Regions from separate parts of the Homo sapiens genome. Here regions 1, 2, 3, 4, 5 and 7 are each linked to region 6. The links are contacts of gene promoters, found by promoter capture Hi-C in blood cells and fetal thymus (Javierre and others, 2016). All regions are on one chromosome and are shown on one strand. Each heading gives the region's core, a stretch centred on a gene start or on the middle of the fragment in contact. The rest is flanking DNA. Distances are from core to core; before and after follow the strand shown.

Evidence for each region. Contacts are between HindIII fragments. The CHiCAGO score rates a contact against its expected background, and 5 or more counts as called.
Region 1: a contact is called between the fragment with the promoter of PLA1A here and the fragment with the promoter of B4GALT4 in region 6, in 2 of 17 cell types (erythroblasts and monocytes). The highest score is 5.9, in erythroblasts.
Region 2: a fragment that was not itself captured here is called in contact with the fragment with the promoter of B4GALT4 in region 6 in 10 of 17 cell types (naive CD4 T cells, total CD4 T cells, total CD8 T cells and 7 more); the score reaches 8.8 in naive CD4 T cells.
Region 3: a contact is called between a fragment that was not itself captured here and the fragment with the promoter of B4GALT4 in region 6, in 6 of 17 cell types (naive B cells, megakaryocytes, erythroblasts and 3 more). The highest score is 6.1, in naive B cells.
Region 4: a fragment that was not itself captured here is called in contact with the fragment with the promoter of B4GALT4 in region 6 in 12 of 17 cell types (total CD8 T cells, naive B cells, total CD4 T cells and 9 more); the score reaches 16.8 in total CD8 T cells.
Region 5: a contact is called between the fragment with the promoter of ADPRH here and the fragment with the promoter of B4GALT4 in region 6, in 5 of 17 cell types (megakaryocytes, erythroblasts, total B cells and 2 more). The highest score is 5.5, in megakaryocytes.
Region 7: a contact is called between a fragment that was not itself captured here and the fragment with the promoter of B4GALT4 in region 6, in 2 of 17 cell types (activated CD4 T cells and naive CD4 T cells). The highest score is 5.7, in activated CD4 T cells.

What each region holds. Positions count from the first base shown.
Region 1 is chr3:119,595,771-119,599,587 of GRCh38, reverse strand. It overlaps PLA1A (phospholipase A1 member A), which reads right to left and starts at 1,703. Exons shown (of 11, transcript NM_015900.4): 1 at 1,602-1,703. The coding sequence starts at 1,674. RefSeq lists an enhancer at 835-1,024. The HindIII fragment of the contact is 18,763 bases long and covers 1-3,817 here.
Region 2 is chr3:118,871,385-118,875,005 of GRCh38, reverse strand. No RefSeq gene overlaps it. Among named protein-coding and RNA genes, the nearest start is that of IGSF11-AS1, 70 kb to the left of the region's middle. The HindIII fragment of the contact is 1,071 bases long and covers 910-1,980 here.
Region 3 is chr3:119,704,921-119,708,339 of GRCh38, reverse strand. It overlaps CFAP91 (cilia and flagella associated protein 91), which reads right to left. Exons shown (of 18, transcript NM_033364.4): 2 at 1,455-1,531; 3 at 779-936. Among named protein-coding and RNA genes, the nearest start is that of CFAP91, 3.6 kb to the right of the region's middle. The HindIII fragment of the contact is 4,731 bases long and covers 1-3,419 here.
Region 4 is chr3:118,889,703-118,893,371 of GRCh38, reverse strand. No RefSeq gene overlaps it. Among named protein-coding and RNA genes, the nearest start is that of IGSF11-AS1, 52 kb to the left of the region's middle. The HindIII fragment of the contact is 229 bases long and covers 1,190-1,418 here.
Region 5 is chr3:119,577,398-119,581,096 of GRCh38, reverse strand. It overlaps ADPRH (ADP-ribosylarginine hydrolase), which reads right to left and starts at 1,605. Exons shown (of 5, transcript NM_001125.4): 1 at 1,246-1,605; 2 at 461-546. RefSeq lists enhancers at 456-675, 1,616-1,715, 1,500-2,001 and a silencer at 1,296-1,435. The HindIII fragment of the contact is 4,349 bases long and covers 63-3,699 here.
Region 6 is chr3:119,239,628-119,243,124 of GRCh38, reverse strand. B4GALT4 (beta-1,4-galactosyltransferase 4) reads left to right here and starts at 2,247. Exons shown (of 8, transcript NM_003778.4): 1 at 2,247-2,275. The region is part of intron 3 of B4GALT4-AS1 (B4GALT4 antisense RNA 1); the gene reads right to left. RefSeq lists silencers at 1,381-1,430, 2,081-2,560. The HindIII fragment of the contact is 11,429 bases long and covers 1,545-3,497 here.
Region 7 is chr3:118,926,514-118,930,062 of GRCh38, reverse strand. It overlaps IGSF11 (immunoglobulin superfamily member 11), which reads left to right. Exons shown (of 7, transcript NM_001015887.3): 3 at 1,347-1,554. Among named protein-coding and RNA genes, the nearest start is that of IGSF11-AS1, 15 kb to the left of the region's middle. The HindIII fragment of the contact is 1,183 bases long and covers 659-1,841 here.

The sequences.
Region 1 (3,817 bases), core at 454-2,953, 360 kb before region 6:
GTGACAGAGGCCCCAGGCTTACCGACAGATGAGCTTCCAAAAAGAGTTTGATGCCAATTTGCTATAGTCCTCCCACTCCTCAACCTTCAAATCAGGACAACTAGCAAATGCCTTCCAGCCCCTAAGGAGGCCTGGGGCTCCTGAGCAGGGACAAAGTGGGCCTGCCAAGCCCACTTCTCAGAACGGGACCCACAGCTCTCCTAGGTGATACCTCCCACCTTCTCTCCAAGGTGGCTCATGACAGCCCTGTTCCCTCCACTTCCATCAGCCTAGACAACAATTTGCTAATAATAAAATCACAAAGGAATAAGCAACTGCAAAAGTCAGGCCCTGTGCACAGATGATCCCATTCAGTCCTTACAGCATTCCTATCTGGTAAGGATCATCTCTAGCTACAGGTAAAGAAAGCCACTTCCTCAAGGTCACATAGCTACAAAGAAACAGAGCCAGGATTCCAGTCTGGGTTAGCCCGACCCAGACAGAGCCTATTCCCCATCAGCTCAGCCCATTGCCTCCTCTAAGCATCAATGTCTGCAATATTCACTGGACATCTGCTCTATACAGAGCACAGCACTAACTATGCTAAAAGAGACAGAAGCCTCAAATCCTCACCTTTTAGGGACAACTAATTGAGGTAGGAGAAAGCACATACAGAGCTCAACAGCACCTCTGAAAAACCACCCATGAGTGCAAGGAGAGCATGCAGTCACCCAGTGGAACTTTGTAGCAGGGAGGGGTGCTGAGCAGAAAAAGAATGAGTACAAGGGAGATAGGAATACAGAAGCCCCCTTGAAAGATGCAAAGAACAGAAATCAATCCAAAGGTGATGTGAGCAACCCCAGGCAGAAGCAATGACATATTCTAGAGCCAGGGAATGAGAATTAAATGTCCAGCGGAGAAGACAGAAAAGCAGCCTGCTATTGTGAGTAGAGGGAGGGGATTTTTCTAAGGGTGACCTCACCATAGTGAGAAGGAGTCTTCTGAGAACTTCTGAGAACCCAAAGTAGAGCAGGTTAATTTTCTGTTAGGCAAGAGGGATCAGTGGGTCAGTTCTTTACTGGGGGAAAGGTAAATGCAAATTGGCATCTGAGGGAAGTTTTCCCAGGGGCATCTGAGGTTAGCAGGGACTAGTTCCCATCACCCAGCCAGGATGACAAACCACTTGAGTTAGGTTGCTGGATTAGAAAGGACATCTAACAATCTCAGTGACAAAATCATTATTAGTTTGGAAAACCTAAATTTTAAAATTAAATATATCTTGGAATGGTGGATATTTATGGGGTGAAAAATGAATATCTTAGAATTAACCAAATTTTATTTTCTTACAGTTGGTCCTGGCTTGTGCAAGGTGAGAAAGGGTTTTTTTATGTGGGCTTTAGAAAAATGAGTCGGATAACCAGGGAAAGTTCAGGTTTTGTGACCTGTTTACCATCATTCCGATTATGATAAAAGGGGTTTTTTTCCCCTACTGTTTTAAATTCACCTCAGAAGAGGCAAAAGGCTTTTAGGGGATCTTCCAAAAGTTAGTACTGCATAAGTAGTTGGAGAAATATGATCACTGACTGAAATAAGTTCCTCCCAAGGCCTGAGCCCTGGCTTACCTGAACTTCCAACGCTGAGCCACAAAATGAGGCCCCCCACCCAGAAGCAGCTCTCCCAGGGACCTGGGGGCATCGCTGAGCTGGAAATCTCAGAGCTGGTATGGAGTAATTCCCTAAAGCCAAAGAGATCATATAACCCAGCCTCTCAGAAAACACCCACGTGGATTTCACTAATCATTAACTAGCCTCATGACCTGAAAAGGAAAAATAAATTCTTCTTTATTTATTTAAATGCCAGAGTTTTCGGTTTCTTCTTCTCAATGAAAATAAATACACTTTCTTTTTTGTTAACCAGAGTGCATTGAAACACACTGTCCCTCTTTGAGCCAAACATGATCAGGAAACTATTTCCTGCACCTCTCCCACTTCCCGTGATAGGATGTTAGTAATAACCAAGGCAGAAGTCCTGCATCTCTGGGTGGCCAGAAACCCCTCATTGTGTTGGAATTATCTGTGGACATGTGTGTCTCCCTAGAAGATTCTGAGTGACTTGAGAGCAAAGGCTTTCTCTTTTCATTTTTGAATACCCAGTGCCTAGCACAAGACTGAGATAATACTATATATTAAGTGTCCATTTAAAGGGAAGAAGGGAAGAAAAAGTTTCCTCTGGAGAGTACTATCATTTTGTAGAATCTTGGGGCTAGGAGTCAAGTCCAACTTTGGAGATGTTCAACTTCCTGAATTCACAAAGAAACTGCATATTAGAAAAAGAAAATGACCTGTAGAGATCCCGTTGGTGGAAGTGGCAGAGCCGGGCCTGGAACCAAGATGGTTCCAGCACCATATGGCCTCTCCACCCCAAAGAGTGGCAGAAACCACAAAGAGCTATTTCTAGGCAAGTCAATGGGGCAGAGGCAGAGGGCAGGGCACTTGCCCCCCACTCCCTAAATCATAACACATTGCTGTGAGGTAGACAGCCCACTGGCAGGGCCAGGATCATCTTTTCCAAACAATAACTCTCTGAGGTGAGTATTATCACAGAGAAGTTAAGTAATTTGTACAACAAATTACTTATTTGTATTATAATTGTATACAAATTACTTAACTGTGACAATTACACAGTTAGTAAGCACAGATAAGTACAAATTACTTCTCTGTGATAGAAGTAATTTGTATTAAATACAAACATTTGTGTTTTACACAGCTGGTAGGGCACAGAGAATTTAAGTCATTTGCCTGAGGTCATGCAGAGCTGGGATTTAAAGCGGGATGAGCCAGCCCCAGAATCCATGCTCTGAGCAACGATACTCTACAGCAACAACTCCTGAAGAGGCTCTGGGACCATGTCATCATGGCTGAACGCAGGATACAATTATTTTGGAGGGGCTAGCCCTTACATCCCCTTGTGCACATGATCTCACTGCTCAAGTGCTGCTGCAACCAGGAAGGGGTGTGGCAATAAGTAGTGCACAGCAGAGGTCACTACTGAAAGCTGTCTTGATATTAGAGACCAAGCCAAGTGTATGAGTTCAGGTCCTCGGAGAAGAAGATGCCAAGGTAAGACAAGATATGCAAGAGATTTATCGAGCTAACACCTGTAAAGAATAAGAGGTACTAGAGAAGCCAGGAAGCGCCTTTAGATGGTGGTGAACATCTGATACCTGTGAAAGAGAATGGGCAGGAAAGAGAGGATTACATAGGAAGAGTCTCAGGCTGCAGCACAGTTTCTAGAATATTCTGACCAGGCCAATGGGGACTCCTCAGGCCAAAGTCTTTTGTGACAGCAGATGTGTTTTGTAGAAATGAGCCTGCATTAGCAGCCACATCTTGCTTAGTCATTAGCTGAGGTCAGCCTCAGCACAAAGACAGAGGTAGATTCAGAAGACAGCAGCTGGAGCCATCAGTCAATCATTTTCCCTACAGCAGGAGAACTGAGGGCTGTTTTCCTAGCCACCCACACCGTGGCCAGAGATAGTTAATCCAGGGTGCCCTTGTGCATGGCATGAATACAGCTGACATTGAGAGAGCACTTTCACTTTCTTTCACATCCAACATCTAGCACAGAGCTCTCCAAGCGGGGTCAGAGTGGTCCCTTCCAGAACCCCCTGCCTCACAACCATCCAATTGACTTGGGACAGATTGCTGGATCCACCCCAGACACACAGAATGAGAATCTTTGGAACTGGGCCCAGGACTCTGCAGTTCCAGCAGGCTCCTCGGGTGATCGTACGCATGCTAGAACCACTAGTCTTCTGTTAATACTTACAATAGCCATG
Region 2 (3,621 bases), core at 196-2,695, 370 kb after region 6:
CTTAGCAATTTGGTTCATGCTAAAGCTTCTTTGATTTCAACAGCTGATTTTTTATTAGAAAGTTTTCCCTAACTTCTGTCTCTCTCCACACCTCTTTGAGAAATAGGAGCAAGTTTGCTTCCTACCTCATCCATTAATTCTAGGTGAACTACATTGTACTATTGTATTAATTAAAGTGGGCATTTATAATAATGCACCAAACTTAGCATTGTGTAAGTGAACAGGAAATTCTCACTATTGTTGGAAAAATTTAAAAAATATTACCCTTTGAGACACTCTCTAGGATAATCTCAAATCCTTCATTATGTGCTTCTTAAGTAAATGGCATTGCCTTAAAAGAGCTGTATTTCTTGTCTGTCCAAGTCTACCTTTTAAGTGACAAAATTGCAACAATGGTAAATGCATTGCTTCCCGTGTCCTCCAAGACTTCACAGCTCATATCTCAATACTTCAGTCTCTCAAGTGCAAAATGAGGATAATAGTTTACAGCATTTAAGATGTGAAGCACTTAGAACAGTCACTGAAACATTATTCAATGCACACTAGCCACTATCACTATTATTTGAAATGTCTCATTGTTATAAATACATATTTTAAAATGTGTGCAAAGTCAACATTGTATTTAAGACTATTGCATTCCCCCAGTGCCACAGTACCACTAATTGAATTTGTGATTTAGGTCTCTCCAGGCAGAATTCAAGGCTGTGGCTCGGCTTTAATACCATCTAGATATTGGATTCCTGACCTGACTTGTTGAGTCTTACCTATCCTGTATTCTTTTTCAATTGTCTCTGCCTACCAATTGAGATAGCCTCCGATTTTACCTGTGCTCCTCCTCCTCTTTCTCTCTCAGCCACTGGTGAGTATTTACATGAGCTAAGATTTAGGAGTGCTGTAGATCAGGAAGCTTTGTTGGCATTAGTGGCTGATTCAGTTTCCCCAGTGCCTGTCCCCTGTGGCTGTGCTGAGTGCTCTCCTGGACCCTCCTCTCTGGTCACATCCTGTTCTAAGTAATGGTCCATTCAGATGTGATCTTAGTCTCATCGTTTTAGTCCATTTGTGCTGCTAATAACAAAATACGACAGACTGGGTAATTTATAAACAATAGAAATTTATTTCTTACAGTTCTGGAGGCTGGGCAGTTCAAGATAAAGGCACCAGCATTCAGTGTCTGGTGAGGGCCTTCTTGCTGTGTCCTCACATATTTGCAGGGCCAAAAAGGCAAAAAGACCCTAAGCCACTTCCCTCCAGATCTTCTATAAGGCACTAATCTGTTTATGAGAGGAGAGCCGGAATGACTAATCATCTTCCTAAAGTCCCCACCTCATAACAACACCACCATGGGGATTAAGTTTCAACATATGAATTCTGAAAAACATTCAGACAATAGCACTTAACATTTAAAAGTTGCTTAATTTCAAGGCCAAAAATTAATCTTATGTTTCAGAATATTATTCAAAAATCCCTCACAAGCAGTTTAACCTCAATGTGATATGGAAGACCAGTGGTCATTACAAAGTATGTTGTTAGAAGTCTTTACTATTTCCCAGATGACTGGAAATATGGCCTTACACTAGAGTGACCCTATTACCAGCTCACTCAGGTTAGTCTCAGTTTATATTTGTAGCCTAGGAATTATTAATAGTGTCCCTCAATTACTCTCAGAGTGTCTTAATTTGGGCAATAAGTTTATAAGGTCACCACAGCTTGAAATGATGTCTAGTAGTCATCCTCCAAATTATTTTATGTCAGGAGTTCACAATCTAACATCAGTTTTCCGTAGATCTTCACATTCACATTACAGCTTTGTTGACTCTTTCAACATCTCTATTTTAATAGCTCTGAGACAAAACTTCAGGAAAGTTATGTTGCTTATCTTAGAAACCTAACTTTCATGGTGAAAGGATATGATGAAAATAGGAATCTCCACCACAGAAGAATAGAAAAATCTCTTCCTAGGAGATATCTTTTCCTGAAGCTTTTTTTGATTGCCCAAGACAGGAAAATAAATCTTCTGTGATTATATAAGATAATGTATACTTATCATAGGATATACATATCATATTCAAATTAATTTTGTCCTGTGACTATGCTCCTTGAAGATGGGAACCATTTTGTAATTATTTGCTTCTTGAAGGTGGTAACTATTTCATAATTATTTGTGTTTTTCCAGGCCTCACACATGGCACATAGTAGATGCTGAAAAAAGTTTGTGAATCTGAATATTGGAACTCAATTGAACTCAAGACTATTTTTATCAACACTTCTAGTGATCAAAGTTGATTAGTATATACTAGAAGTTGCTGATTATAAAACAAATTAATCTGATGTGTTATTGGTCATGCAGGCCACCCACCCAGTCTATCCTTCTATCTACTATGTGTGAAACATTCTCTTCCTTCCACTTTATGTGGAGATAGGTGAAACATTTCCTCTTTTCATTCTCTCAGTAAGTCTGATGACTCCCTATGTTCCTGATCATCTGATCCCAAGGAAACACGCTATTAGTCAATTCTCACACTGTTTTAAAGAAATACCTGAGACTGGGTAATTTATGAAGAAAGGAGGTTTAATTGACTCACAGTTCCACAGGCTGTATAGAAAGCATGACTGGGAGGTTTCAGGAAACTTACAATCATGGTGGAAGATGAAGGGGAAGCAAGGCACATCTTCCTATGGCAGAGCAGGAGAGAAAGGGGGGAAGTGTCATACTTTTAAACCATCAGATCTCATGAGAACTCACCCACTATCATGAGAACAACAAGGAGGAAATCCAGCCCCATGATCCAATCACCTCCCAGCAGGCCCCTCCCCCAACACTGGGGATTCTAATTTGACATGAGATTTGGGTGGGAACACAGAGCTAACCCATATCGTTCTGCCCTTGATCCCCACCCCCAAATCTCATGTCCTTCTCACATTTCAAAACCAATTATGCTTCCCAATAGTCCCACAAAGTCTTAACTCATTCCAGCATTAACCCAAAATTCAGGTCCAAAGTCTCACCTGAGATAAGCCAAGTCCCTTATGCCTATGAGCCTGAAAATCAAAAACAATTTAGTTGCTTCCAGGATACAATGGAAGTACAGGGATTTGGTAAATGCTCTCATTCCAAATGGGAGAAATTGGCCAAAACAAAGGGGCTACAGGCCCCATGCAAGTCCAAAACACAGAAGGACAGTCATTAAACCTTAAAGCTCCGAAATAATCTCCTTTGACTTCATGTCTTATATCCAGGGCACACTAATGCAAGGGGTGGGCTCCCAAGGACTTGGGCAGCTCTACCTCCGTGGCTCTGAAAGGTATAGCCCCCTTGGTTGCTTTCATTAGCTGGCATTGAGTGCCTGTGGCTTCAACGCTGGATCTACTATTCTGGGGTCTATAGGATGGTGGCTCTCTTCTCACAGCTCCACTAGGCAGTGCCCCAGTGGGGTCTCTGTGTGGGGTCTCCAACCTCACATTTCTTCTCTGCACTGTCCTAGTAGAGGTTCTCCATGAGGGCTCTGCCTCTGCAGCAGACTTCTGCCTGGACGTCCAGGCATTTCCATACATCCTCTGAAATCTAGGCGATGGCTTCCAAGCCTCAACTCTTGTCTTTTGTGCACCCACAGGCCCAACACC
Region 3 (3,419 bases), core at 187-2,686, 470 kb before region 6:
AAAATGCCCAATTTTAATTAAAAGCACACAAGAATAGCAAAATATTAAAAGACAATTTTTTTTTTTTTTTTTTTTGAGACAGAGTCTCGCTCTGTCACCCAGGCTGGAGTGCAGTGGTGCAATCTCCACCTCCTGGGTTCATGCCATTCTCCTGCCTCAGCCTCCCAAGTAGCTGGGACTACAGGCACCTGCCACCACACCCGGCTAACTTTTTGTATTTTTAGTAGAGACGGGGTTTCACCGTGTTAGCCAGGATGGTCTCAATCTCCTGACCTCATGATCCGCCTGCCTCGGCCTCCCAAAGTGCTGGGATTACAGGCGTGAGCCACTGTGCCTGGCCAAAAGACACTTTTTCTATGTCCAGGTTAAAAGGCTTTATAATTTTTAATTTACTAAATGTGAACTTGTAAGTAATTAAAAGAATAAAGAATTCGACTTATTCTTGAAGGTGCTTTGGCCCCAAGTTCCCAAAAAATATTTTAGATACTAGCAGAACAGAGCACTTTCAGTTGCTAAGTTGGATCCAAGCAACAACAAACTCAATCATCCCTACCTTTGGTGGCAAGTTGTCATTATATATATGACAAAATTATATATATATATATATCTCATATATACAATATATAATCAGGTTTGTTTGGTCAAAAGAGGTTTAGAAAGAAAATTTGGCCTAGGTATAACACCACAACTGAACATTTTAAAACCACACATGGTAAATGAATTTAAAGAAATGCTTTTAATGCATTTATTTTAGGCCCTGGAGCCACCCGACACTTACGTGGTGAGCTGCCGGAGGGCTTCTCTGTGTTTCTCCTTATGTCCCTTCCATTCCCGACTGATAAATGGTGGGACAGGATCTGACTTGCTCCAATATAGAGAATATCTTGGATAATGGATCAGGTTACTGAACATGGTTTTAAACCTGGGAACTTTTCTCTAATGTTAGAGAAGGGAGGCAAAGGACAAAATTATACCATCAGCTTTTCTAAAGCATTTTAATTACATTGTAAACTCTTTTTAAAAACATACAAAACAATGTATACAGCATAAGAAGAGGGGTTATTGCTGTATGCGTAAAATATCTTTAAATACATGCCCAAGAAACTGATGACAATGGCTGTTTATGTGGAGGGGGTAGGGGATAGGGCTAGAATTTACTTCACACTGTATATGCTTTTATACTACTTGAATTCTTTTAACATGGGCATATATTATTAAATTTATCCCATTGAAATAAATTAGCTTATGGGTTCTCTGTTCATTATTGGTGACTTAATCCTCACAATGAGCCACACGTATTAAGATGCTTTGCCCTCCAGTAATCTTGGCAAGGTAATTTCTGTGGAACCTAAAATCCAGTGAAGATTTGGTGATTAGTCAATCTGATCAATGCAGTCAGGCAAACTAGATGGTTCAGGTTCATCAGGTAGCCTTGGCTGATGAATTAGACATACCAGTCTGCTGCGAATCAGGGTAGCTTGGATATTTGCCTGTGTATGGTCTTTCTCACTTGACACAATAAACAATGGATCTGCAAAATAAACAATCAAGTAGCATAACAGATAGAACATATCTACCCCTAGGCTGAGAATAATGGCAAAGTAATGTAATCTCTTAATTGGAAAACAAATTTAAAAGTTTAAATATTGTCTGACTCTGCAGCAGCTCATGCTCTGTTGTGCATGTGGCCCTGTTACTCTACCACTTCTACCAGCAACAGTTGTCAAGATGTTTTTCTTTTCTGAGTATTCCAAGTCAGCTTACGGAAGTGGAATTCATAAAGAAAGTCTAGCATGTTTTCAAGTACTACACCCTGAACACACTTTCTTCTCTCCTATGAACAAAACTCCTTTTGAGCCTGGGTAACCCAAAAAATTCTTCAAGGGAAAGACCTTGTATATACGCACTATGCCAATTTGCAAGTGAAAGAAGCAATACATTTATACCATCTCCCATATTTGGTGCACTAGAAAGATGCAAACCACATGATATCTCAGAATTGGTGAACACGGTTAAAAAAAAAATCAGCTATCTTCAGAATTCACCCCTTAAGTTTGTAAGTTTGCTGATGATGGAACTGTTATTTTTACAAAGTTCAACAAAATATTGCCCTGCTATTATAAGTATCTGTTTATCAGGTATATCTTTAAAGTGATGAAGAATATTCATGATTGACTATACTGTACCACCCTTTAAAATCAACTGATTTGCCATTAAATTAACAAGCAGCCTTTGGATACACTTGATTTCCCAAGTAGACTTGTCTCTGGGGAGGCAAATACCCTGACCAGCTAGTCTAGATAACATGGTAACACATATTTCTCCATAGAAATTAATAATTTGGGAATTGTGATTTAGAAACAAGTCTCTTTTGAATTTGGATAATGTGTGTCAATTCCTAAAACCTAATAATTCATTAGTAACCCAACAAATACGATTTACTGAATGCAGACATTGGATATTCCCACCAAGGCTGAAAAGCTGCAAGAGGCTCAGGCTCTTTTTGCTCCTTCATTCAACACATGTTTATTGACTGGCTACTCTATCTAGGTGCTTAGAATACATCAACAAAACGACAAAAATCTTTGACTTCATGAGAGAGAGACAACAAACAACAAACATAATAAACTAGCAAATTACACATTAGAATTTGAGGGTTGTTATTTTTAAAAAAGAAGAAATCGGGTAAGGAAGATTGGGTTGCAATTTTAACTAGGGTGGTCGGGGCAGGCCCTTGAGAAGGTGGCATGTAAGGAGACTTGAAGGTGAGGGAGTTAGCTAGTTAGATATCTGAAGAACATTCTAGGATGGGAGCATGCCTGATACATCTGAAGAACAGCAAAGTCCCTAGGATGGGAACATGCCTGATACGTCTGAAGAATAGCAAAGAAACCAGGACAAATGAGGCAGAATGAAGGAGGGGAAAGAGAGTAGATAAGAGGCCAGAGAAGTAACTAGGGAACTAATCACATAGGGCTTCATAAGGAAGGGTAAAAGAACCTGGAAAGGTGTTCATCTTTGCACCACCACAGTTCTGTCAAGGTGGAAACCTGGCCCAAGGCCAGTCAATTCATTGGCCAGCCAACAACCAATCTTAAATTTCTAACTTAAATTTTCAGCTACAATACACAAAGACGCTATACAATTGGTGGTGAGCTTTAGGGCTAATTAGTCAAGAAGCACGCCACCCTAGTCCCTATCATAGTAAGAGAAATCCATACACAAGAGGCTTTCTGTCAGATGGAAGGAAGCAAGCATAGAGATGTGTTGCTTAATGATGGGGATACGTTCTTAGAAACGGGTTATGAGGTGAGCTTATCGTTGTGTAAATATCAGAGGGTACTTAACATAAACCTAGCTGGTATAGCCTACTCCACACCTAGGCTATATAGTATAGCCTATTGCTCCTAGGCTACAAA
Region 4 (3,669 bases), core at 55-2,554, 350 kb after region 6:
GAACCAATGTCTAAAAAGAAAGATCTGGGATCCTCGTCGTTTTGCCTTCAAATAGCCCTCTTTTGGACAAATCACTTGTGTTAAGTAAGATGATATTCAACTTCACAGAAAAAATGCTGAGACAATAAATGCAATTCAGAGAAAAGTTGACTTGTAAATTCTATGTGTATACAGCTATTTATAGCTTTTCCTCACAGCTTCCTTGTGAAGAAGGTATTATTTCCCTATTTTAGGTAAAGGCAAGGCACAAAATTCTGACTTAATCATAAGACATTAATGATAGAGACAAGTTTATTAAACAAAGCAATAAGTATAGTGCCTACTATGTATTTAACACAGTGAGGTCAGTTGATACCTGATTAATTTTAGGAGGTCAGATTAGAATAGATAATTTAGCTTATTATAACTTACATTGAAGCCATATTTCTCTATCATCCATCAGTTGCTCCCTCAGTTTATCAGATTTGCAGCAGTTTTGCATTTGAGGCTTGGACAAGATTGTATGCCTATATATATATATATATGTATGTGTGTGTGTATATATATATATATGAATGAGCTTCAGTTGTCCATTACATTGGACAAACTACAAAATTCTCTAAGGCTCAGTTTCATCTACAAAATAGAAACAATATAATAGTTATCTTTGAGATTGTGAGTACTAAATGAAATAATGCACATAAGATGAATATCATGGTGTCTGGTGATAGTAAACACTTGATATTTGCCATTATTCGTAGTAGTTCAGAAGCTTTAAATTTCTAGGCAATAGCTATGTCATTTACACCTACTCAGTATTTCAACTCTTTTTGCCAGAAGTACTATTTGAGTGCTACTGCATATAAAATAGCAATTTGGGACATTTTTTTGTTTAAGAGAAAGGAGAAGCCTCGGTAATTATTGTCTACCCAAATACTTTCTCCTATTTCCCTTTTCCTCACATTTTGTTCCAAAATAACACACTTATCTTCTGATTACTATCAATTTCAAATCGCTGAGGATAATTAAGAGGGTGGGAGAACATCAGCATTTATAGAGCACCTACTGTATGCTAGACAGCATACTGGACACTTTGTGTATATCCCATAGAATCCTCAACACTTTCAATTTTAGTACTGTATTATGCTAATTTTACAGATGAAGGAACAGGCTTTCATGGGTTAAGTACCTTGCTCAAGGTCATAAAGCTTGTAAGATGTAGAGCCAAGGGCATTGCTCATCTGTTGCCATATACTGTCCTTCCATTAAGATAGCCAATAAATAGTAAAGGTCTTGGTACTGCCTCAAATTTGGCCTGGCATAGACAAGAGTTCTTTATTCTTTCTAGTCATTCTTTGCCCATTAAAAAAATTATTTAATAAAATTACCATCTCTGACTTATAAGACTATTAGAATAATTTTTTCCATGCGGTCAAGCTTTTTGAGTTTTTCTCCTCTTAATTTCTGCACACTCGGGGGGGTCTCACAGCCGTTTAATTCTTTCTCATCACTTTCCTAGGGCATTTGCAATTTGTGTAAAACACTAGTTCCCTTACCACCTTCAGCTCTACAGTCAGAGCTATTGCTAGGGGAGGATGCGTTTGAGGAAATTCCCGTAGGCGAGAAGTTTTGAGGGGAACACAGAGGTCTTTGAAGACATGGTGAATTTGGAGGAAATTCTACGTAGAAGGATGCCTTTTGCTACCCTGGGCCTGCACTTGAGTCCCAGCTCCGTCACTTCCTACTGACTTGAGGCAAGCTGTTTAGCCTCTCTGGGGATATAACATGGAGATTATAATTGCTACATCATAGGTCTGAGGATACCATTAGATAATGTATATAAAATGGTATAGATAAATTGTAGCTGTTACTGGTTTACTTTTTAAGTCATGTATTTGAATTTTATAAGGAGAAAAACGGAAGTTCTACTGGAGAGATTAGAGAAGACCTGAGTCTCACATACAACCAGGTTGTAACTCTTTTCTTCACCTCCCCTCTCTCAGTCATCCAGAGATCAAGGTGTGTTCACCCCTCCAACTTCACAGTGCTGATCCTGTATTATGATGTAAGTAGAGGCGAGGCTGTGATTTCTGAGCCCCAATCCCTTTAGTATAGAGATCACAACCTGAAATGCCTGTGAAGGTAAAGTAAATGAGAGAACTGGGCCAGATGGGGAGCATGGTGACTTGGAGATTTATGCCCTGCCTAAAGAGGTTAGCAGCTACTCAGCTCCCACCAAGAGTGGTCAGTAGGACTTGGGTCCAGGATGGCCAGGTCTCTTGAATCTTCAAGAGAAGCCAGAAATGCTTATTTGTATCTCTCTTGGATTGTATATGTCGGCAATGAATTTTTTTAAGTTAAATCCTGCTTAATTATACATTCCTGTGGGTCTGTGTGGCCTGTGGTCCAGTATTTACAATATCTGTTATTAAGCAGACTTGTTTCCAGCAGCTTCATGGGTGGATCCAGCTTGGAGCTCTCCTCTTCTGAATAGTATCGAGTAACAGGAAACTATGTGTCAGGTGCTGCTCTAAGCATTTTACATCTATTAAATCATTTTAATCCTCACAACCACTGTATGAGATAGGTACAAACACTATCCCATTTTGCAGATAATAACACCGAGGTACAAGTGATAAGTAACTAGCCTAAGTTTATATGGGAAGACCTGGGACCTGGATTCAAATATAGGCAACCTGGCTCCTAATTGCTATATAGTATTTTCTAATGTTTGTGCTTTCAGAAGAAAAAGAAACGGTGCATTTCTGGTAATTTTAAATTTTCAAGGAATATTTCAATGATTTAGATCAGTACACTGCTCTCCCTAGTTCTTGAAACAATCCGGGCTGACATTTTGGAAAGGAGGGGAAAAGGGCAATTCTCTCATCAGGCTTCTTGGGCAAAGCTCTTCTGAAGTAAATGGGGCTGAAAGCCCCCATTGTGTAAACTCAGCCCACACCTCCCCACAGCGAGAAGTCATAAGCAAGTCTTGAGTCTCCACATAACTCTAGAGTTTTATAGAGGAAACTCTTCATTAACAATGCATTGATTTGTGACCACACTTCTGTAAAAAGAACAGCTTTCATAGAGTCCTCTGCAGCTTGCTTGCTTGCTTTTTTTTTTGAAGTGTAGTGTTTTTGCTTACTTGCAAAGCACTAAAGAGGAGTTAACTTTTAGATGGGTACAAGGAATCTTCAGATGTGTTGCTGCTAGTACTTTTTTTCCCCCATTGAGTATAAGGATGAAAAAAAATATTACATTTCAGAGAAGATTATCAGGAAAGAGAGTTTCTTCTCAATTGATGGAACACAGCAGAAAGGGGAAAATCCTTCATCCAGTTCTGACTTTATTCCATAGGATTAAAAAAAAAAAATCTTGTCTGAGAAAAAGTGAAATCTTGTCATTTTAGTCTTGCACTAGAAAACTTATAAATATGTTTGAGAGGAAAACAGAGCTGGGTAGAAATTTTTGCTCAGGCAAGGGGAGGGCTTGGGCTTCAGTCACTCCCTTCCAGGAAAAGGAAGTGATTTTTTGAGAGCCTACCATGTGCCAGACACAATCCATCCATTATCTTATTTTTTCTCACTCCTTGAGGTAAGTATTACTTTCCCTGAAGTGTTGGAAAGGCAGTCATTCTTAATTCCTTTCCACCTCTATGTCTCCTTTCTTTGCCCCCAGACACTAATTATG
Region 5 (3,699 bases), core at 356-2,855, 340 kb before region 6:
GACTCTGTCTCAAAAAAAAAAAAAAAAAAAAAGTTCTTAGAGTGCTTGGCACATAGTAAGCTTGATTTTTGACATATTTGTATTATTCATATACAACCAGGGAAAATGGGTGTTCTGTTTTAGAACTAGAACATTTTCTCCCCACAACCTTTCCTTCGACAGTAATGTTTAAATATTGTTTCTCTTAGAAATGATCAGCTTCTAGAGAATTCGAATCTCTATTAATAATATACCCACCATGAATGAAATCCCTGGTAAAGCGCTGGCTTCCCTGTTGGTGCATTTCCTAAGAACCCCCCTCTTTCAGCCAATTCCTCAGGGTTCCCTTCTCCCTGTGGCTTTCAGGTCAAAGCCCTCCATCCCATCCAGGCCAATACTTTTATAAGGGTCTGGCAGACTAGCTCATTCTCCCCTCAGGTGAAACTTTTCCCTCCCCTCCACTTATCTAAACCCTATTTACCCAAGGTCTAGTTCAAGTCAGGAGGCTTCCAGAAGTGCTTCTGCAGCTGCACTGCTGTTGGCCATGGAATGCAGGCTGGAGAGCCCCTGGAGAAGGAGTAAACGACGAAGATGGATGCGTTCCACTACCCAGTTACTGGTAATGCTGAGTTTCTGAGCTCACAAAGGATATTTGTAAATGTTATTTACATAGTTTATTATTTACAGTGAAGCCTAGGCACTGAGATTCTGGGCTACTAGACCTGACAGACACCCGGGACAGCGGTTTGCCCATCTGTAAACTGGAGGGGGAAGTGGGGAGGTATAGGCTCTCGGAAGTTCCGTCCTGCGCTGCGATTTTCAGACACTAGGCCAAGACACTCTGCTTCTTGGCCTCGGAGGACTAACTTTAACCCCCCATACCCTCCCTCTCAATGTCCTCATTGTCCTTTCCGTAATTCCTTCTGGCTCCACCCTAATGTGTGCTTCTGTGAATTGCAAGCTGGGATGGGGGAAGAAGACCGGCATCTTTTTTCGGTTGTAAATTCCCTTTAACGTTCGCTTTCAGAACGCTGTAATTACTTAACTCCTCTGAACTTTCACGGGTCACATTCTCGTACCCGAACTATACATTCAGAACTAAGATCTGATCAGCTGCTTCCGGGCCATGCCCGGCTTTGGAAAGAAACGGGGCGGTTGACACGCTCCCACGATTTGCAAGACTGGGAATCCTCATGGTCGGCCACACTCGGAGAGCGCCAGGGGCGGGGGAGGGGAGCGCGGGGCCGAGGGCCGGGATCGCGATACCTGCTGTAGCCTGGACTGGAACGCGCGAGCGACGGGCGTGGCGCGGGCTCCCGGGGCCGGGGAAGAGGCCTTGGCTGCTGCGGGTGGACGAGGGCGCGGGTTGGGGCGGAGCCGGGTCACCGGGTTCCGGGACTGTCCCCAGATAAGCAGGGTGGCGGCGAGGGCCCCCGCACCTGCGCTTGGCCGCGCTGAGTGAGCTAATCTTGGAGCCTCCAAGGCGGCTTCCTGGCACCGCCGCGCCCTTCTGCACCCAAGCGAGAGTGGACGGGACCTCCGTCGCCCGCCCCAAATGCTCTGAAGAGCCCGGAGCCTGGTGCCCGGAATGTGGCGGCACCGGAAAGCCGGCTCTCGCCTGGCTGTGGTCAGTGACTCCCGTGTGGCCCCGGCTGACGCCTTCGCCCGTGCTCACGTCCGACTTTGTAGGACTGTAGTGGACCGGGTGTGCCCAGATGCTTGAAGAGCGTACTGAGTGTGCCGCCCTTGCCAGGGTTCTGGGCCCTCACGCATAAAGTGGGATAATAATATCTGCCTCTTAGAATGGTTGTTAAGGATTCAGTTAGTTAATTTTAACTAGTCATTTATTTGGCAGCAGCGTAGAATTCTTGTATCCTGATCGTAAATAAAAGCAAAGAAAAACGAAGAGTATTTTTGTCTAAATACATTAATCATGTCACTTTTAAAGCAAATCAGAATCACCATATGCAAATATTCTATATATTTCTCCAAAGTTTTAAATTTGCTATGCCTATTTTCTTGCTGTAATGACTAGCCTTGGTCTGAGAGCTTTTTAAAAAATTGATATATAATTTATATATAATGAAATGTCCTTACACCATAATCGAGATATGAAATATTTCCATCACTTTAAAACATTCTCTTGTGGCCTTCCCAGTGAATAACCATCTCCATCTCCAACTCTAGCCTAAGTGACTTTTGAGTGTTTACAAAAATCAAGTTCACCAATAAGGGAGGCAGAGATCACCTCCAACCCCCTACACCCTCTAGCTCTTAGTGAGCTAATCAGCTGCATCTAGAAGCCAAATTGACACTAGGCAGATTAACAAGAGAAAAGTATACAAATTTTATTAATTTTACATGTACATGGGGATGTTAAGAGACTGAATCCTGAAGAAAGTGTCCAAAGCAAGATGCTTTTATACTTTTTAGAAAAAGAGTGATAAATTTAAGAAGAAGTGACAGGACAAAGAAAATCCGGCTAGGGTGGTAAAAAATTTCTAGGGGAGCCCCTAGGAGATATATGGGGGGTGGGGTGTAAAACAGGTGGAAGATAATGGTTACTTTGCAAGAATGTTTACTCCAGTCCAAATGCCACCTCCAGTTCCAAATCTCTGGTGATGAGAGCTATTTTCTCGCTCTGGCGTGGAGAACATACCTCTCCTAGAGGAATCTTTATTGCTGGCTGCATGCAGGAAGAGACAGCTCAGCTCCTGTCAGGGAACCAGGCTCATTTGTCTTTCACACAGTATGCCAATCACTGAGGCGCACAAGTTTTGCAGTAGAGAAAGGGTGTATTCACAAGGCAGCCAAGACAGGAGACTGGAGAACAGGCCTCAAATGTGCCTTTCCAAAGATGGAATTTTAGGAGTGCTTATGGGATAGGGGAGGAAGGTGGTCCAAGGTTCAGAGAAAGATGAGGTAAGGAAAAGTGAGGCAATCGGTAATCTGAGCAAGCATAGTCAATCTTCATGGCTGTTCATAGAACACATGTTCACAAAATCGTGACGTTAGCATGATCTGAGAGTGGAGTTTTGGGCCTTCTGATGTCAAAAGGTCACCCATTGGACACTCACGCAGGCCAAGATGAAGGGCTGGTGGCTTGAACTGGACAAGAACTGACTCTAAGTTCCTGAAAAATAACTTAAGCAATATTTTCCATGGTGTCCTATCAGAGAAGTTATCTATAAGGAGGCAAGTGGAATTTAGTTATGTATCGTCTAGCTACATGACTTTTAGCTATGCAGGTTTTAAAATCGACTAGAAGCAAGTGACCAAAAGCAAGCAAGGCAAATTAAGTGTCAGGCCTAATCAGGTCAGCCCTCAGTTTTACCCTTTCTGAAACTATAATTTCTCTAATGTTTTCAACTCAAAGTAATCAATATATTATATGGCATATTTGGGGATGGCACATCCTTCATTCTTTCAACTGTCAAAGATTTTCAGCCTCTGAGGATGCAGTCAAAGCAAGTTCTGTAGTAAGAGACATTTTGAATAATAAGCATCCCGATAAAACTCAACACAGTTTCAGCTTAAGATGTCTGCTGAGGATATTGTTCATATTATGTAGTGATCTTTCTGTGAGAATCCATGGGAAAGGGTGATTTTTTGTTTTCGTTTTTGACTTAAATGTAAAGAATAACTGGGGCTGGGCACAGTGGTTCATACCTGTAATCCCAGTACTTTGGGAGGCCAAGGGGGACAGATTGCTTGAGACCA
Region 6 (3,497 bases), core at 998-3,497:
ATCTGATCTCTCTTTCTTTTCCCCACATTTCCCCCTTTTCTATTGGACAAAACCGCCATCGTCATCATGGCCCGTTCTCAATGAGCTGTTGGGTACACCTCCCAGACAGGGTGGTGGCCGGGCAGAGGGGCTCCTCACTTCCCAGACGGGGCTGCCGGGCAGAGGGGCCCCCCACCTCCCAGACGGGGCGGCGGCCGGGCAGAGGGGCCCCCACCTCCCAGACGGGGCGGCGGCTGGGCAGAGGCGCCCCCCACCTCCCGGACGGGGCGGCTGGCCGGGCGGGGGCTGCCCCCCACTTGCCGGGCGGGGCGGCTGGCCAGGCGGGGGCTGCCCCCCCACCTCCCGGGCGGGGCGGCTGGCTGGGCGGCTGCCCCCCACCTCCCGGACCAGGCAGCTGCCCGGCGGAGGGGCTCCTCACTTCTCAGACAGGGCGGCCAGTCAGAGACGCTCCTCACCTCCCAGACGGGGTGGCGGCGGGGCAGAGACACTCCTCAGTTCCTAGACGGGTCGCCGCCGGGCAGAGGCATTCTTCACCTCTCAGACGGGGTGGTGGGGCAGAGGCGCTCCCCACATCCCAGATGATGGGCGGCCAGGCAGAGACGCTCCTCACTTCCTAGACGGGGTGGCGGCCGGGAAGAAGCGCTCCTCACTTTCCAGACTGGGCGGCTGGGCAGAGGGGCTCCCCACATCCCAGATGATGGGCGGCCAGGCAGAGACGCTCCTCACTTCCTATACGGCGTGGCAGCAGGGCAGAGGCTGCAATCTCGGCACTTTGGGAGGCCAAGGCAGGCGGCTGGGAGGTGGAGGTTGTAGCGATCCGAGATCAAGCCACTGCACTCCAGCCTGGGCAACATTGAGCACTGAGTGAGCGAGACTCCGTCTGCAATCCCGGCACCTCGGGAGGCCGAGGCTGGCAGACCACTCGCGGTCAGGAGCTGGAGACCAGCCCGGCCAACTCGGCGAAACCCCGTCTCCACCAAAAAATACGAAAACCAGTCAGGTGTGGCGGTGCGCGCCTGCAATCCCAGGCACTCGGCAGGCTGAGGCAGGGGAATCAGGCAGGGAGGCTGCCGTGAGCCGAGATGGCGGCAGTACAGTCCAGCCTCGGCTCGGCATCAGAGGGAGACCATGCAAAGGGGAGACGAGGACCGTGCAAAGGGGGGAGGGAGATGGGGAGGGAGACAGAGAGGGGGAGGGGGAGGGGAAAAGCTGAGTGATTCTTGCAAAAGGTATATATTATGCTTCCAGGCATCATATGCTCAAGACCTGGGGACTATGTGGGTATAAGTAACTGATTGTATAACGCCACTGGATGAAATCCAGTAATGTCCTTTTTCACTAAATGTGGTTATACACCCTTACAGCATGTTACAAAGGGAACACAAAAAAATAAGTTTCACACTGGACCTTGTTCAGGAGCAGTGTTGACCTATTTCACTGACCTATCCTCAACTGCCACTAGGTGGCCCTCTTTTCCAGCTTCCAAGGGCCTACATTGGGCCTATGCGGCCTCAGTATAGCCTCAGATTTCCTGCTATGAAGCTTAATGAGCCCAGCACTGGCTCTAGCTATGGTTTGTTCCTTTTTGGGTGGAGTGGATGTGTGGTTCTTGGAGAATCTACTACTTTCCCGTGAGTGCAGTGGGAGACTGCATTAGAGAATCTAGCTATCCTGACTGCCTAAACAGAGCCTACCATAATTTTTCACTCAAATCTTTAGTGTAAATATAATTGTCTTTGCTTTCTGTAATAATATCTTTGAAGAAATACGGATTTAAAAAAATCATTTAATATTCTCAGACCTGCAACATGGGAAAAATATTATTATTATTATTATCATTTTTGCAGTTGAGAGGGCTGAAATCTCGCAGGGTGATTAAGTTTATTAGCCTCTCTAAAGTCTCAGTTTCCCACTCTGTAAAATGGAAGGGTCCCTATCTCTTTCCTACTGCTTTGTGAGTATTTAAGGGGATGGAATTTGGGAAGCGCTCAGCACCCAGTCTACTATTGGCACAGGGTTTTAAAGCCACCCAGAGGCCGAGGCGTCAACCCTCCGTTTCCCTCCCGGTGCTCCTTCCAGCGCCCGGTGTGGTCGATTTGGCGGGGGTGGAGCGCCAGGCGCGTGCAGAGCCGGGCGGACCAGCCTCTCCGGCCAAGGCGGGAGGCGGAGCTCGTACTCAAGAGCCGCCTCCCGGGCGGCTGGGGCGGTCCCCGAGCTGCTTTCCGCGTTCTCCCCTCTCCGCGGGCAGTGCTAGCTCGCCGCGGCCGCCTCCGGGGTGAGTACGCTGGCTCCGCCGGCGCCCGGGAAATGCAGTTCCCTGGACACGGGCGCCGTGCGAGGGTAGCCGGGCGACGGCCGGGGTCAGTCCCAGGGCTGTAGCGGGGCGGGCGTGGGGATGACGTGGCGGCGTCCGTGGGGCAGTCCCGCCTCAGCCGGAGCGGTGGGCCGGGCCGGGGGCCTACGGAGGCCGAGCCTGGCGGGAGGCACCGGCTCAGGTGCTGGCGTTCCGCGCGGCGCCGCCTCTGCTGCGGGCCGGGGGAGCCAGACGAGGTGCTGCCGGGTAGGAAAAAATCCAGGGCTCATTCATACCCCAGGTCACGATTCCGGGGTCGCCCCCAGCACTTCTCCGCCGGGTGCATCAACCTGAAAAAGCCCCTTCTTCCTGGAAACCCTCCTTCTCCAGCGTTTCAACGGGGAAACTGATCAGCTGACACCAGCCCCAGTCCTGCGAGGGGCCGGCGACCTTTGACCTTTCTCCAAAGGGGTTGGTCACCTGGATTATAAAAGACTTCGGAGACAGCCATCCAGTGTTTGTTGATCTGTATCCCTTGATGTTCTGTCTTCCATTAGATAAGGGCTGTTAATTCTTGGTTTGAAAAAAAACAGACAAAGTCCAAAGGACTCTGCATCGAGGAGAGGCCTATGGGTTGGTAGCCTTAGGAGAGTAGTTATCAACAGTGGGTGGGTGTGCACACTGTTGCAAAGTGTTCCAGAGTGGGTGAGGGATGGGGACGTGGCGGTGGTGAGGGTACTGGTAGACCTCCTCAGCCGTTTGGTGATGAAAAGGAGGAAAAAGAAAATGGTAATCTGAGCGTGGAGGCGAGTTGTGGCTTTTTTTTTTTTTTTTAAATTTTTAAAGAAAGGAAAATAACACCTTTAAGATGCAAGAAAATCAAGGAGAGATCAGGATGAATAGGATTCAGGGTCCGGATTGAGAAACTGGGATTCAGAAGGGAGGGCTATTCCCGAGACCCAGGCGGGGAGTGCTGGAAGGTCTCTCTTGGGAGAGGAGATAATGCTTGATTGGATATAGTTCAGAAGTTTTTGGAATTTTGTCTTCTAGAGCAGGTTTGTTCTTTATGGAAATTGTAAACCCCATGAAATTGCAATAACTTTCGTCTACCTATAGCTTTGATCAGATTGAAAACATACGTTGTGAAAAAGTACTGACCTGGATTGAACTGTTTGACTACATAATCTAAGGGGAAGTGGATAGA
Region 7 (3,549 bases), core at 1-2,500, 310 kb after region 6:
GGAGGTTGGTAGGGAAGCATCATGAGTACATCTTTGGTTTCGAGAATAAGGTGGCATTGTCAATGTGCGTGTACTCTTTTAAGGCCTACTCCTCTGCCCTATCAGTCACTTATCAGAAGAGGCTATCCTCTTTTTAAAAAGGTAACAGATGTTAAGAATATCCTTCTGAGAGGTTTATGTAGGAACCTGTAATTTTATCAACAACATTGCTAATAGGCAATTTTGACCAGAAGGGACTGGCACCATCACAGATTGTTGAGAGCATACTTTTAAAAGATAGTGATAATAGTAAGGAAGTAACATTAGGTTGTAGTACTTGATTTTTTTTAAGTTAATTTCACTAGTATTTTAAAGTAAAACATGACTAGCCATGTTAGTGAGCTCAAAGAGTCTCATATAAATTATTAATAGAATGTGTACGTGAAAGAATGTACATGAAAATGGAAGCTACTCCCCAGTAAGCTGTATCAATTACAGGAAAAAGACACATAATTTGTAGAACTCACTGCAGAAAATAATGCTCAGGAAGTTAATGAATTGTGATAATGATTACACCTTTATTTACAATGTTAATGGAGCTTTTCTCCTTCAGTAAGATTATTATTACCTCAAAATATTTGATAAGCTAAATTTTCTGATATGAAATTAAATAGAAGCTTCTTTTGTTTCTTCATAGAATTTTTGTAGTTAGACTCCGCCTTCAAGATCATTTTGTTCAACCTTATTATTTTAGGAATCAAGGATGGAGTTTAAGTAAAGAGCTTGAGTAGAGTTACTAAACACATTTACAGGTAGAGCTTGAATAGAACTGAGTCCCTCACTCGCAGCCCAAAGGGCTTTTTGTTATGTCATTCTAAGTCTTCCATGAAGACTTAACTTTGATAGTAGAGGCTGACATAAGAACAGTAATCATGGACTTGTAACTCTACTTCCCTTCTGTGACATTTATTTACATTCAGTCTGTACCTATGATCTATCATTGTGTGACCTAATAAGCATGAGAATGGCAGTGCTAATATTTTTTAATTTTTGTTTTGGAATCAGTTTTTTGAACTGGTAAGAATATTTATGAACTGATAGTAGGGTGGGCAGCAGCAAAGACTTTTTTTATGTTCTGATGTGTTAGGTAAGGAAAAAATATTATTCTAATTTGTTATGTGAGAATTTAAAACCCCAAGATACCTATGAACAAATACTGTAAAAAAAAAGTTGATGATAATTATCATATTAGAAATAAAATTTTCCAATGTTTGGTGCAGCATTTGGTACTGTCTACCAAATAGTTATTGTTTTGTGTCTAGGAGAGGATAGAGTGGCCAGTTTATTTATTTTGCTTTCTTTTCCAGGTCATCCTGTATCAGGGTGGACAGATGTTTGATGGTGCCCCCCGGTTCCACGGTAGGGTAGGATTTACAGGCACCATGCCAGCTACCAATGTCTCTATCTTCATTAATAACACTCAGTTATCAGACACTGGCACCTACCAGTGCCTGGTCAACAACCTTCCAGACATAGGGGGCAGGAACATTGGGGTCACCGGTCTCACAGTGTTAGGTGAGTGACACAAGAGTCCTTGGCTGTTCGGGCTTTACTCACGAAGCTACTCTCAAGCATACTTGCTTCTGCCCTTGTTTCTACACCTTCAGTCTGCTTATGTTCTTTTTCTGTCTTCTCTCAGTTCCATCTCTTCTCTCCTTCTCCATGCTTCTTACAGATAGTCTCCCCCTCCTTTCTTCATTTCCGGCGGTCTCTAAAACTTACTTATTTAATGACTTTCTTCTGAAGGTGAAGAAAGATGGTATCAAATACCATCAGAAGTGGTCTCTCACTTTTCTTAAGCTTCTACAGTACAGAACTTATTGTTGAGAGCAAATTAAATCAAGAATGACTTATTTTAGTACAGAGCAGAAGTTTTAGCATGTGTGAGAATAATACTATTACTTCATATCTGTGTAACACCGAGTAGGATCACCACAGTTCTTGGCTTGCACGTGTTGTCCTGGCATAATTGTAATAATACCTCCTTTTACTCCCCCAAGTATCCTTGTTTGAAGAATAAATCATATTATCACCTTAATACTGAGACCAAATAGATTTAGGTTTTTTTTCCCCAGATTGCATAGAAAATAAACAACAACGTTTAGATTAAAATTTAGATCTCCTTACTCAAACCAGCACTCTTTCCATTACACCATGTTGTTAGACTGTCTCACACTAATATCCATTATAAGCATGTTTTATTTTTCAATTCTTCTGTCTCTAATATAAAATACTGCTTTCTAAATGAATACTTGTGGTAGAGGTGGCTAAACTCAGTTCATCTGGGGAGATGGAAGACGTTTTGAGAAGGTTGATGTTCTTGATTCTCCTCCATCCTACTCAAGTCTCAGAATCTACTCCCGCAGTCCTTGTCAAACTCCACCCCCGCTTTCTTTTTCCTTCGTTGTTGTTGAGTCACTTAAGAATACAGGTGTTGGGAATTCTTGTCATTTTCCCTCGGCCTTTGGTGCCTTTTTCTCCCAGCCTTCAAACAGAATAAAAAAACTGATGACCAAGTCGGGGATTTCTATTCTCAAAACCATATTCATTGTATTATATTAAAAATTGTATAGATTATAAAATACTCTGAGTACCGAGTATAGTGTACTAATGGAATTAAATATTCTGATACTTAGACCTGTAAGTTAGGTGACTGGCTTCCCATATTATCCAACCTTATTTCTTTTTTGTTTGTCCAGACTTAACTTCTCAGCATCATTTTTAAAAAGAAGATAAAAAGCCCTTAATTTATTTTATAATTAATGCTACCTCCAAAGAATTATTTTGGGTTTCTCTTCCTGGCATCACAGTGGCAATGACAAAGGCAAACAAAGATTAGTTTGCCCCACCGCAGTAGTTAGGATTCTCTAAGATTTTTACTCTTCCTACCTATATCCTTTTATTGTTCTCTCTTCCCCTACCCACTTTTTTTTTTCCTGATTCCTGTGTATACTCTGCATTCATTTTTTCATTCATTCATTTATTCATTTTGGAAAGGGTGAACATATTTACTGAAAAGTCATTAGCATTACAAATAAATCATAAATTAGACTTAAACTCTACCATCTGTATTCCCCAGCATGAAACTTCAAGCCATGGGCTTAGTTTATGGTTTTGTTTTGTTTTTTTCCTTGTTACTATATATCACCACCTTCTTCCTTTAGTGTTCTTTTTGGTAATTTTTGTTCCATGTTTTTTGTGTCCTGCCTTAATGATTGTGAAATGTTCACTACATTATTATCCACTCTGCTTTTACCTGAACCTTAGTTTAACTTTCTCCACCATAAAGCAGAATTTGGTATAAAGTGGGTCTGCCCAGTTTTTGTTTGTAAAGTAACAAAGGGCCTTGTTAAAGTGGTTTTCGCCAGGGCAGGATAATGGTTGTTTTTCCCTGAAATCTTGAAAAGTGGCCTCTTTCAGCAATGTTTTTAAAAGCAACATGTTGATACAATGGATCTTAAGAATTCTTCTTTAGAGGAAGCAGAGTGAAAGGAAGATCTTAAGATACCT